Regions from separate parts of the Homo sapiens genome. Here regions 1 and 3 are each linked to region 2. Evidence: promoter capture Hi-C in 16 types of primary human blood cells and fetal thymus (Javierre and others, 2016). All regions are on one chromosome and are shown on one strand. Each heading gives the region's core, a stretch centred on a gene start or on the middle of the fragment in contact. The rest is flanking DNA. Distances are from core to core; before and after follow the strand shown.

The links. The method cuts DNA at HindIII sites, captures the fragments that hold promoters and counts their contacts. A CHiCAGO score of 5 or more calls a contact.
Region 1: a fragment that was not itself captured here is called in contact with the fragment with the promoter of GGCT in region 2 in 7 of 17 cell types (total B cells, non-activated CD4 T cells, activated CD4 T cells and 4 more); the score reaches 6.7 in total B cells.
Region 3: a contact is called between a fragment that was not itself captured here and the fragment with the promoter of GGCT in region 2, in 1 of 17 cell types (naive B cells). The highest score is 5.1, in naive B cells.

Annotation. Positions count from the first base shown.
Region 1 is chr7:30,235,705-30,240,474 of GRCh38, forward strand. The region is part of intron 2 of LOC124901607 (a long non-coding RNA gene); the gene reads left to right. Among named protein-coding and RNA genes, the nearest start is that of ZNRF2, 47 kb to the right of the region's middle. The HindIII fragment of the contact is 4,856 bases long and covers 800-4,770 here.
Region 2 is chr7:30,501,818-30,506,313 of GRCh38, forward strand. GGCT (gamma-glutamylcyclotransferase) reads right to left here and starts at 3,012. Exons shown (of 4, transcript NM_024051.4): 1 at 2,752-3,012. The coding sequence starts at 2,892. RefSeq lists enhancers at 2,220-3,099, 2,748-2,957, 3,100-3,978, 3,398-3,487 and a silencer at 2,418-2,597. The HindIII fragment of the contact is 6,754 bases long and covers 1-4,496 here.
Region 3 is chr7:30,217,286-30,221,816 of GRCh38, forward strand. The region is part of intron 1 of LOC124901607 (a long non-coding RNA gene); the gene reads left to right. Among named protein-coding and RNA genes, the nearest start is that of ZNRF2, 65 kb to the right of the region's middle. The HindIII fragment of the contact is 1,612 bases long and covers 2,067-3,678 here.

The sequences.
Region 1 (4,770 bases), core at 1,978-4,477, 270 kb before region 2:
CTTCACCCACTTTTTAATGGGATTGTTTGTTTTTTTCTTATTAATTTGTTGGAGTTCATTGTAGATTCTGGATATTAACCCTTTGTCAGATGAGTAGATTGCGAAAATTTTCTCCCATTTTGTAGGTTGCCTGTTCACTCAGATGGTAGTTTCTTTTGCTGTGCAGAAGCTCCTTAGTTTAATTAGATCCCATTTGTCAATTTTGGCTTTTGTTGCCATTGTTTTTTGTGTTTTAGACATGAAGTCCTTGCCCATGCCTATGTCCTGAATGGTGTTGCCTAGGTTTTCTTCTAGGGTTTTTATGGTTTTAGGTCTAACGTTTAAGTCTTTAATCCATCTTGAATTAATTTTTGTATAAAGTGTAAGGAAGGGATCCAGTTTCAGCTTTCTACATATGGCTAGCCAGTTTTCCCAGCACCATTTATTAAATAGTGAATCATTTCCCCATTTCTTGTTTTTGTCAGGTTTGTCAAAGATCAGATGGTTGTAGATATGTGGCATTTTTTCTGAGGGCTCTGTTCTGTTCCATTGGAATTTTACTTTTTTAAAGACACAGGAACCCAAAGTATACCTATAGCATATGACATCATCCTATACTGTTAACTGCACAAGGAGATGTATTTAATACTACATCTGCTTTAGTATATCATTGTGATTCCGGCACCTAGCACAGTGCCTGACATGTAGAAGTTCTTCACAAAGAACAAAGTGGCAGTAACAGGAAGCCCAAATGGAGGAGAAACACTCAACAAACTCCGTACACAACTGTCTGACCTCCTTCATGTCAATTTGATAGTTAAGCTTCATGGGATGAGACCCATTCACTTTTGAATCCCTCACGGTGCCTTGCCCATAGTAGGGACAGCTCAATAAATGTTTCATAAAACTATAAATGATGGTTTCTCTTCTCTCTCCTGGAATCATTTCTACAGACTTTCCTGCGTTTGATACATGCATGCCCTGGTGACAGATCATGTGCTAGAACTGGGATAATAGCCATTGTCATAGGACGTTATGTAGTTGGGATTATGTTGGTCATAAAGCAACAGAAAGAAAACAAGTAAGAATGGCTTAAAAGAATTGAAAAGCTATTTCTTTCTAATGTTCCAGAAATCTAGAAGCAGGCAACCCATGATTGGAATGGAGCTCCATGGTGTCAGGGACCCAGGTTTCTTCTTTTTGCTCTGCCACAAGTGGCTTCCATTCCCAAGGTCACCTCATGGTTCAAAATGGCACCTGGAGCTCTGAGCACTAGTCATTACATGAACATTCCAGCCATCAAGAAGGAGGAAGAGGAGAATGAAGGCATGCCTCCCTCTTCAGAAGTTTCATGTACCACCTCCACTTATGTCCCATTGGCCAGAACTTTGTCAAAAAAGCCTGAAAGGCATAGATTTTATTATGGGGTGCCTTGTTCCCAGCTAATGTTTAGGAATCTCTCCCTATGGAAGAAGGGTAGAACTGACGTTGGGAAACAACTGGCAGCCTCTGCCATTGACCTGTCCTCAGCCATCCCATCACTAGCCAATATGAGTTTCATTAAGCATGTAGCATCTACTCTGATGATGTAGGGAAGGTTACCATGACAGTGACTTACAATTAACCAGGTGTTTGGGACCAGTGCCAACAAACACTGCCTGAGAGATGACAGGCTTCTTTAGTTGCCCCATAATGGCACATTTCCGTTTCTGACATGGTCCCCATGGTGTCACAGGGGTGACCTGGGTCACTACTCTCTGCCTAGCAGAGCCAGGCCATGAACTGCAAGTCAGCATCTTTCCTGCAGCAGTGATTGCTTATGTCCTGCACATGCTGGCTGACAGCAGCATTCAAATCATCAGAGAAATCAGGAAGTTGGAGTTAGGTATTCTCATTACATATATAAAGAAATAGAAGAGGCCAAAGTTTCAGAATACAAGTTATTTGACTCACACTTGTGAGGTCATGGGGTGCTGCCCTTTCTGACATCACTAGGGGACTGACAGGCCAGTAGATCTGAGAGCAGAAAAGCAATGATTGGGTCATTTTAGAACAGAGGAAAATAAACGGTTTTTATTTGATAAAAAGCAGATAATAATATTATTCATATTATTAGCTACCATTTAGCTAGGAACTGTGCAAGCCCTATGGTTGCCAGCATCCAAGAAAACCCCCAATGATACTTGTTTCCTGATATTCATGCCTTTGCGTAGTCCCCTCCCATATTGAATCAGGGCTGACCTCTTTAACAAATAGAATACAATGGAAGTGGTGATTGTGACTTCTGAGGCCAAGTCCTAAAATGCATTGCAGTTTCTGCTTTGGTCTCTTGGTGGGTCACTCTGGGAGAAGCGAGTTGTCACTTTGAGGACACTCCATCAATCCTGTGGAGAGGAACTGAGGTCTCCTGCCAAGAACCAGCACCACATATCAGCCATGTGAGTGAACAGCCTTACAAGAAGATCCTCCTGCCCCAGTCTAGCCTTTGGATGACTGCAGCCCTGGCTGACATCCATGAACCTTATAAGACCCTGAACCAGTACCACCCAGCTAAACCATTCCTCAATTCCTGACCCTCAGAAACTATGAGATAATTAATTTTTATTGTTCTTTAGGCCACTACATTTTGGGGTAATTTGTTAGGCAGCAAAACATAATGAATACAGCCTCTTTATATAATTTATTAATCACAATACCACTTGAAACTAGGTATTATTTCCCTGTTTTACTGATAAAGAAACTGATAATTTTTCCCCAGGTCAAAGAAGCTCGTAGAAGGAAAGCTGTTACTTTAGCATAGCTCTGCTTGCACAAAACCTACATGCTGAACAACTGCTCACTATGCTACATGGCAAGTGGACCCACTTAGGACTTCCAGAATGCCTGGAAGAGAAAAGCCAAATGTCCCTAAATGAATTGATTCTAGTGAGAGTGATTGTGAGGGTTACATGCTAGCGTTCAAAATTATATAGACTCTATAGGCATCTGTTAATCTGTGCTCTAAAATCCACAGCCAGATTGAAACTCAAGTGCATGATTGTGTTATGAAAATCAAAGTGAGGTTAACCCAGGGACTACCTATCAAGAAAGCCCCCATTTAGGTGCTTGGAATGCAGAAAGATTCCCAAAGTTCCAGCAGAGTCTGTGCAGCCTCAAACAATTGCCTTTACCAGGGCCTTACAACCTGATGTCATTTGGGGATGCTGTATTTAAAGTTGCCTGAGTTACAGAGAACAGGGATATGGTCTATTATCTCAGAGGTGGGCATGAGCTCTATGGGGTGGAATGATCATTTGCCTCCTTATTTGCCCAAGAAATGTAGGGTGGAATGATCATTTGCTCTCCTCTTTTTTTTTTTTTCTGTGATGGATCAGTTTCTATTTACCATCTTGGCTCCCTGCCAGTGTGCTGACAGTGCCAAATTTGGTTGGTACATACTTGTCAGCAAAAGAATGTGAGTACTGCTCTGAAGTCACAGCAAATAATGGGTTTCTGAGATCTTCTCTTTGACTCACAGGTTTCCATGTGTCTCATTCTAGCCAGAGGCTTCACTGCAAGACCAAGAAGCCATTTAATATCTAGTGGAGGTTTCTGGTCTTGTATTGTTGGCTAAGAAAGCCAGAAATGTGGGTGAGAGAGAAGTCTGTTCTTGTTCCCCAGGCTTCCCCCATTGCACTCCAGATGCAAATCTGTTCTGGTAACCACATAGCCAAATAAACAAATGAGGATGGAAAGTCTCTTGCTGAAAAATGAAATGTCACTTCTAAAACAGAATTCATGATCTTCTTTCAGCTCTTTCAAACTTCCCTTTCTATGTTGGTGCCAACATGCCCCTGAGCTCAAAACTTTGGCATTAACATTGACTGTTCCCTCCATTCAGCCTTTCAAATTGAGCCAATCATCCAGGCTTGTCAATTGTGCCTTCAAAATATCCTAGGATTATTTCTCCTCCATTTTTACTTTGCTTTTATGTCATCACCTAGATAGATACCCGTGCCCAAATTTCTTTCCCCATTAGTAGCTCTAAGCTGCCTACTGCAATGATTACAAATTTATGCATCTAGCTTTCAAGACCCTGCATAGTTTATTCCTTCCTAACTTTATTAGGCTCAGGTCCCGGTGCTAATCCTTCTGCATACACATGTGCTCATGTGTACATACACACACAGACACACACTGCTGTGTGTATACACCATGCCCTGCACCATCACTCACCTTTCATTTGGGCTGCCTTCTCTGCAGTTTTGGATATTCCTTTTATTCTTATTTTTTTAATTTTACTTTTATTTATTTATTTTTTTTGAGACGGAGTCTCGCTCTGTCGCCCAGGCTGGAGTGCAGTGGCGCTATCTCGGCTCACTGCAGCCTCCACCTCCTGAGTTCACGCCATTCTCCTGCCTCAGTCTCTTGAGTAGCTGGGACTACAGGCGTGCGCTGCCATGCCCAGCTAATTTGCATATTTTTAGTTGAGACAGGATTTCACCATGTTGGCCAGGCTGGTCTTAAACTCCTGACCTCAAGTGATCCACCCGCCTTGGCCTCCCAAAATGAGGATGTTCCTTTTAATCCTTTGTCTGTCTTAACTCATTCTTAAGGAAAACTTTCTTGCCTCCTGCCGCCCACAGTCATCTCTCCTTTGACTATTTCCACAGGCTGTTATTTTCACTATTGGCCAAACCACACCTCTGCACTAGCCTCATTTTCTAGATCCCTCAGGCTTCTACAATCTCTCTGGACTCAAAAGTCTTTGGGAAAACAAAAATAGAACTGATTGACAGTAAAGCACAGCTC
Region 2 (4,496 bases), core at 1,762-4,261:
AAACTTGTCAGACATCTCAGGAATTGGGGTGGTTGGAGTGACCAGTACCTTTATTCAGCATAAGAGATGTTCTTCTAGGACCACATGTCCCTGGCAGGACACCAGGAGATGTGATAAAAGTTACAATTCACACTAACTGGTTGTGTATTGCTAAATCCAATAAACTATTTTCATTCCTCATCTTGTTCCACTTCTCAGCGGAACATAGGTAACCACCTTCTCCTGATCTGCCTCTTTCCTGATTTTCAGGCTGTTCCTTGATCTCAATCCCCTTTGCCAACTCCTCCTCCATTACCTGATTTTTAAATGTTGGAGTTGCTCAAGGCTCAGTCTAGGCCATGGGTGTCCAACCCTTTGGATGCAAGAACTTTTTTGCTTACCTGTGGTGGCGGACATCACAAAAATTATGCATGGGCCTTTTTTTTGTTTTTGTTTTTGTTTTAGCTCATCAGCTATCATTAGTTTTAGTGTATTTTATGTGTGGCCCAAGACAATTTTTCTTCTTCCAGTGTGGCCCAAGGAAGCCAAAAGGTTGGACACCCATGGTCTAGGCCATTTTCTCTATTCATTTGGCAATTTGCTCAAGACATTCTCATCCCCTCCAATGGCTTCAAATATTCTGATCATCTTTAAACCCAGACCAGATCTCTCTTCTGAGCTTCAGAAGTGCTTAGAACAGGGCCTAGCACACAGTAAGTACTTAATAAATGTTTGCTAATATTATTCTGTTCACTTGACTGTTTAGCAAGCATTTCAAATTCAAAATGTTCAAACTGAACTTAAAATTTTCTCCTCCCAAGCCGGATTTTCCTCTTTTCTCTGCAAACATCACCTGCATCTACCTGGTGCCAAAAACCTGAGTCATCTTTGGTATTCTCTTCACACTCAATCACTATGCTTTAACAATGTTATCTCCAAATTAGTTCTCAAATCCATCCACCCTGCCCTGCCACCACCCTAGTTCAAGATGCCATTCATTATCTTTGGCATAAATTGCTGCAAAAACTTCTTGAACTCTCCACATTCACTCTTCCCTCCTTCAAATCTATTTTCCATGTGACCAGAATGGGCTTTTGGAGATAGAAATCTATCTTTCATGTGCTTTAGTTCTGCAGTGTGTCTTATTTGGCTTCTGTGGTCCTGGAAGATGTGGCCCTTCCACATATCTCCAGTCTTCATGCCACATTCCCCTTACTAAACTCCAGCCACACTGACTGAAAGATCCAGCTTCCTCTTTCTTCAGGTCCTTTGCAGAAGATGCTGTTCCCTGTTTTGTGTGCTCCCCACCTCTACAATCATTCAGGTCTCAACTTAAAAGTCACATTTTCAGGCAGGGCTTTCCTGAGCATCCTGGTTAGGTCAGGTACCCTGGTCATACGCCCCATTGCACTTTGCATGCCTCCTTTTTAAGATGGACCATATACCTGTAACTGAATAATCCCTTGTTTAATATCTCTTCCCCTTGCCCTGACTGTAAGCATTTGGACTCCCTTCCTACAGTTGGGAAATTCCCTACCTTACGAGTTTGGGAATAGGGAGTATCAGAGCCTGACTCCCATTTTTGAGGCTTCAAAGGCCAGAAGCTGGTTCTCTCAGTTTTGCTTAAAATCACGGCATGGGTACGTGGCCAAAACTTAGCCAATCGGGACATTCTGGGGCTTTCAATTAGAAGCTAGTGCCCAAGACAGCAGGGACTCCAGAGAGGCTGACACATTTGGGTTTCAGGAACTGCAGGGATGTACAGAGGCAGGCAGTGTCCAGGGCAGGGGGTGGTGGACAATACAGCATCCACGTTTACCAAGTTCAGCAGTGGCGTGGAAGAGGCTCCGTGGGCTGGTTCTGTTGTGTGATGCCCACTGTATTACAGTTGCTGTGCCTCCCTTTATGCTTGTCCGTTTTGTCAGCTTTGTACTCCTGCCTTCCTGGTCATTCTGTGAGCTCTCCAATAGCCTTTCAACACATTCTTTTTTTTTTTTTTTTTTTTTTTTTTGCTTAAATCAGCCAGTTTCTGTTGCTTGCAACTAAGAACTCACGATGTTAGCAGAGATCATGTTTGTCTCATTCGACGCTGTCAAAAAGGTTTTGAACATAATCTATTGCACCTCTGTCCTACAGACTGAGAGTTCCTCGAAACAGCCACTTTACTCAATCATGTTTATACCCTTAGTGTTAAGTGCCGGAAGAATATGTACTAAATGAATGAATGGACTGGGCTGAAGAGCAATGATTTACCAACACTGGTTATAGTTCATGCAGCCCCTTGACCTAACTGAACACAGCATTATTACAAATAAGACATGGTCCCAGCTTTCAGGACCTCTTAGATGAGGAGCGAAAGGCAGGTAAACGGATTTTCACAATGCCAGGTGAGAAGTGCTGTAACAAAGGTTATGTACAGAACAGAAGGCAACCAATTCCCAGACACGGGTCAGAGAAGACTCTCCAGAAGTACCAACTGTATGCAATCTGTTAAGTTAGTGGACGAGAGGCCAAATCGGTGCAGACCGAGCAGCCGGTGCAAAGGCCAGGAGGGGGAAAGCTCCAGGCAGCCCGAGAGGGCACCGTGGCCCGGGCAGGGCCGGGCAGTGGGCGCAGCGGAGGAGGTGGACCCGCCCAGGAGGCGGAAGCCGCGTCCTAGTACCCTCATCAAGAAGAACTGCATTCCTGGCCCGATCGGCCACGTGTGCCCCCGAGGAAGCGCCTTCTGGGCATCCCGGCCCCGGCGTGGGTAGCGCGGGAGGGGGCACTCACCTGCAGGCGGGCCACACAGAAGAACGCCGCCGAGGGGTTTCGGAGGTGGATCCTCTCTGTCAGCAGGTTGCTGCCGTAGGCAAAGTACAGAAAACTCTCCTCATCTGGACCCGTGACGTCCTTGCAGCCCGAGTTGGCCATATCCCACTACGCCCCTGCACTGGAGCCTGAAGCAGAGTGTAAGGAACGGCCAGAGAGCGCAACACTGGGGCCCACTACCCCGGCGCAGTGACCGCCGCGCGGCAGCCTCAGGGTTAGGGGACTGGCGGGAAGCGTGGGCCGGTCGAGTCAGGAGCGAGCGCTCTCCTGATTGGCTGCCGGTCCCCACCGACCTGAGTCGCCCCCTTTGATTGGCCATCCCCACGGCCTTCCCTCCGCCTTCCGCCGAGACTCAGAAATAGTCTGTCCTGAAGCAATCCGGCGCTGGCTCCTCATTGGACACGACCTACTGATGTCCCGCCCCTCCTTGCTCAAGGCTTCCTCTGATTGAGGGGTGGACAGGCACTCCTCACAGGCGGGTCGGGTCCCATGGACACTGGCTGAAGGTCGTGGCGCGTGACTGGTTTCTTCGCTCTGGGGTGCTTGTGTGTGGTTCTTTGGTACTTTCTGTGCCTTAGGAAGTTCTGGTCAGATCTGAGGCGAAACAGCGGCCCAGGCGACTCCATCAACGGCTCCCTCATCCGGCAGCTCGCCGGGTCCTGCCTTCCTGGCCTAGAGGAGTCGGGCAGGACGGGTCCGTTCACCCTTTCTGCTGGTTCCGGCACCCCCAGCACTGGTCATCAATCTGACCCCTTTCCACGGACCCGTCGCCTGCTGGAGCGGCCCCTCTGAATGCTTGGGACTCCCTTCCCTGTTACATGGAAGTTACATGCCTGGGCTTAAATCCCGACGCTGCCATTTACTAGCCAAGTAACTTTGGGCACCTCTGGTCTCCGTTTCCTCTTTTTAAAAATCGGGATCATAATATAAGTTAGGGTCACAGTAGAAACCCCTATATTGTGTTTTGGTTACCCCCTCCCACACACACACACATCCTGGGTGTATTTTTTAAAACCTATATTGTTAACTTTTGAATGAACATAAGGGCATAGGAACATTGTCTATCCTTGACACCCAGCTATTAATCTCTAAATACCACCCCCCACTAAAAGGTACCAAGTGATCCTTCGAGAAATGACTGATGCCAGGTCAGGAGCTAGGAGTGAATGAGGACAACTTGGAACATCTTGTGTCAGAAGCTCAGGACGCCTCTCAAGACGAACGAGGTCCTTCTAAAAGGACATGGGAACCAGCCTGAAGTTGCCCACTGGCCAAAATTAGAACAATTTGAGAATCAAAAATAACAATGACTGCAAACTGAAAAATGATTGGAAACTTTAAACATAAAAAAGCCATTCCCCCCAAAGAGTAATCCAAATTAAAAAAAAAACTATAACTTCATTTGCCACACTATTGGTGGTGACTATTACACCAACTTTACTCTGCAAAGTGATAATTTAAGAAAACAAACAGGTATTCCGCCTTTCTAGTAGCAGCTGTATTTCGGGGTAACTGAAATACAGCTGATGACGAGCATCAGTTGATGAGGAAACAGTTCTCTTTACAAAAGTATGCCAACTAAGTCATCCTAAATGAATAATGGAATTTTATAATTGATTCATGCCAGGATCATCAGTGATATCATTTGGTGAAAAGGTGATAGGGAACAGGATATTCACTTGATGCCAAATTACTCCCTGAGGATT
Region 3 (4,531 bases), core at 1,623-4,122, 280 kb before region 2:
ATACAGGTCAAAAGCAAAGTGATGGCTGGACATGGTGGCTCACACCTGTAATCCCAACACTTTGGGAGGCTAAGACAGGAGAATTTCTCGAGCCCAGGAGTTCAAGACCAGCCTGGGCAACATAATAAGATCCTGTCTCTACAAAGAAATTAAAAAGAAATTAGCCAGGTTTGGTGGCATGCACCTGTAGTCCCAGCTACTTGGGGGGCTGAGGTGGGAGTCGGGGAGGTCCAGGCTGCAGTGAGCCATGATTGTGTCACTGCACTCCAGCCTGAGCAACAGAGCAAGACCCTGTCTCAAAAAACAAAAAAGAAAAATGATGGAGAAAGATATACCATGTTAACATTAATCAAAAGAAAGCTGGGGTAACTATATTAATTTCAGACTAAGTAGGGTTCAGAGCAAGGAAAATTATCAGTGATGAAGAGGGTTATTACATAATGATAAAAGGATCAATTCTTTAAGAAACAAAACAATCCTTATTGTGTATGTGCTTAACAACAAAGTATCAAAATATGTGAGGCAAAGACTGATAGAACAGCAAAAACAAATACATGAATGCATTATTATAGTCGGAGACCTCTATCAGAAATGAACATATGCAGCAGCCAGAAAATCAGTAAGGGTATAGCTTATCTCAGTGACATCATCAATCAACTGGATATAATTGACATCTATAGACTACTTCATTCAACAACAGCACGATGCACATTCTTCTCAAGCTCGCATGGAACATACACCAACATAGACCACATTCCGGGCCATGAAACACATCTTAACAATTAAAAAAAAAATAAAAATGATACAGTGTCTGCTTTCAGACCACAATGAAATTAAATTAAAATTGACAACATAAAGATACCAGGAAAATTCCCAGATACTTAGAGATTAAATAACACATTTCTAAATAACACATAGGTCAAATAAGAAATCTCAAGAGAAGTTTTAAAATATTTTTTAACTAAATGGAAATGAAAATACAACTTCTCAAAATTTATGAGATGCAGTGAAAGAAGTGCTGAGAGAGAAATGTATAGCATTGAATGCATATTTAGAAGAGAAAAAAGATCAAAATCAATAATCTAAGCTTCCACCTTAGGAAATTATTTAAAAAAACAAGCAAACTCAATCCAAAGTAAGCAAAGAAAAGAAATGATAGAAATTAGAGCAAACATCAATGAAATTGTAAACACAAAATCAATAGAGAAAATCAAACCATAAGCTGATTCTTTGAAAATATCAATAATAAAATTGATAAGTGTCTAAACCAGACTAATGAAGAAAAAAAAGAAATAACACAAACTACTAATATTAAAAATAAAAGGGGATATCACTACAGGTCCTGTGGATATTAAAAGAATAACAAAGGAATACTTTGAACAACTCTTCCCACAAATTTCATAAGCTGATAAAATGGATGAATTCCTTGAAAGACAAAATCTGCCAAAATTCACACAAGAAGAAATAGACAATCTGAATAGGCCTATATCTATTAAAGAAATTGAGTAACAGTTAATAACTTTCCAAAACAGAAAGTGCCAAGCCCAGGTAGGTTCATGGGTGAATTTTTCCAAAATTTAAGGAAAAAATCATACCAGTTCTCTACAATCTATTTCAGAAAATAGTGGCAGAGTGAATACTTTCTAACTCATTATATGAGGCTAGCATTACCCTCATACTAAAACCAAAGACATTACAAGGAAAGGAAACTACAGACCAACACTTCTCATAAACATAGATGCAAAAATTTTCAAAAAAATTTGGCAAATCAAATCCAACAATGTATAAAAAGAATTATACTCCATGACCAAGTGGGATTTATCTCAGGTATGCAAGTCTGGTCCAATATTCAAAAATCAATTAATGTAATTCATTACACCAAAAAGCTAAAGAAGAAAATCACATGATCGTATAAATAGATGCAGAAACAGCACCTGAAAAATTCCAACATCTATTCATGATAAAACTCTCAGCAAAGTAGGAATAGAGGGAAACTTCTTTAACTGGATAAGGAACATTTGCAAAATACCCACAGCTAGCATCACACTTAATGTTGAGAAACTAGAAGCTTTCTGCTAAGATCAGGAACAATGCAAGGATGTTCTCTTTCACCAATTATTTTCAACATCTAACTGGAAGTCCTAACTAATGCAATAAGACAAGAAAAAAAGATATATAGATTGGGAAGGAAGAAATAAAACTGCCATTGTTTGCAAATGATATAACTATGTATGTAGAAAATCTGAAAGAATTAACAAAAAACTCCTAGAACTAATAAGTGATGATAGCAAGGTTGCAAGATACAAGGTTAGTATACAAAAGTCAATCATTTTCCTAAATCCCAGCAATGAATAAGTGGAATTTGAAATTTAAAACACAATACTATTTACCCCAAAAATGAAATACTTAGGTATAAATCTAACAAATCATGCACAAGATCTACATGAGGAAGAATGCAAAACTTGGATAAAAGAAATCCTGGACGAACTTAATAAAGAGATGTTCCATGTTCATGGATAGGAAGACTCAATGTTGTCAAGATGTCAGTTCTTTCCCAACTTTATCTATAAAGTCAATGTGAAGTCAATGAAATCTTAGCAAGTTAATTTGTGGATACTGACAAACTGATCTAAAGTTTATATGGAGAGGCAAAAGACCCAGAAGTAGCAAGTCAACATTGAAGAAGAACAAAGTTGGAAGACCAACCCTATGTAATGGAAGATTTATTATAAAGCTACAGTAATCACAAAAGTGTGGTGCTAGTGAAAGAATAGACAGATAGCTCAATAAAACGGAACAGAGAGCCCAGAAATAGACCCACATAAATGTGGCTAACTGATCTCTAACACAGAAGCAAAGGCAATACAATGAAGAAAAGATAGTCTTTTCAACAAAGTGGTGCTGGAACAACTGGGTATCCACATGCAAAAATATAAATCTAGATACAAACCTTAAACCCATCACAAAAATTAACTCAAAATAGATCACAGACCTAAATGTAAAATGCAAACTATAAAACTCATAGAAGATAACATGGGAGAAAGTCTAGATGACCTTGGGTTTGGTGATGACTTTTTAGATGTAACACTAAAGGCACAATCCATGAAAGAAGAAACTGACAAAATGGACATCATTAAAATTCAAATGTTCTGCTCTGTGAAAGACACTGCTAAGAGAATAAAAGGATAAGCCATAGACTGGAAGAAAATATTTGCAAAGGCATATCTGATAAAGGACTTTATTCAAAATATATAAAAAAAAAAAACCCTTAAAACTCAACAATAAGAAAACAAACATCCTGATGTAAAAATGGGTCAAAGACTTTAATGGACACTTCACCGAAGAAGACATACAGTTAGCAAATAAGTATATGAAAAGATGTTCCACATCACGTGTCATCAGGGAAATGCAAATTAACACAAGATAACACCACCTACCTATTAGAATGGCCAAAATCCAGAATGCTGATAACACCAAATGCTGACAAGAAGTTAGAGCAACAAGAACTCTCATTCATTGCTGCTAGGAATGCAAAATGGTAGACACTTTGGAAGATGGTTTTATTACAAAAACAAATATATTCTTATCATATGATCCAGCAGTTATGCTCCTTGGTATTTACCCAAAGGAGTTGAAAACTTTCATCCACACGAAAACCTGCCCATGGATATTTACAGAAGCTTTATTCCTAATTTGCCAAAACTTGGAAGCAACCAAGATATCCTTCAGTAGGTAAGGAGATAAATAAACTGTGGTACATCCAGATAATGGAATATTATTCAGAACTAAAAAGGAATGAACTATCAAGCCAGAAAAGAAATGGATGTGAGCCTGGGCAACATAGCTAGACCCCATATCTACAAAAACATTAAAAAATTATCCAGGCATGATGGCTCACACTTGTAGTCCTAGCTACTCAGGAGGCTGAAGCAGGAGGATCACTCAAGCCCAGGAGGTCGAAGCTGCAGTGAGCTATGATTACGCCAATGCACTCCAACCTGGGTGACAGAGCAAGACTCTGTCTCTAAAAGAAAGACATAGATGAAATTTAATGCATATTACTAAGTGAAAGATGCCAATTTTAAAGGGCTACATACTGTATAATTCCCAGCATATGACAGTTTGGAAAAGGCAAAATGATGGAGAGAGTAAAAAGATGAATGGTTGTCAGGGCCTGGTGGAGGGATGAATATGCAAGGCACAGAGGATATTTAGTGCAGTAAAACTATTCTATAGGATACTATAATAAGTAAAACTATTATATCATATAGAATATAAAACTATTCTATATGATACTATAATGGTGAATATATGTCACTATACATTTATTCAAACCCATAGAATGCACAACACCTACAGTGGACCTTAATGTTAACTATGGACTGTAGATAGTAATGTGTTAGTGCGGGTTCATCAGCTGTAACGAATGTACCACTCTGGTGTGGGATGTTGATAATGGGGAGGCTGTGCATGGTGGGGGTAGAGGGTAATGGGAAATCTCTGTACTTTTTGCTCAATTCTGCTGTGAACC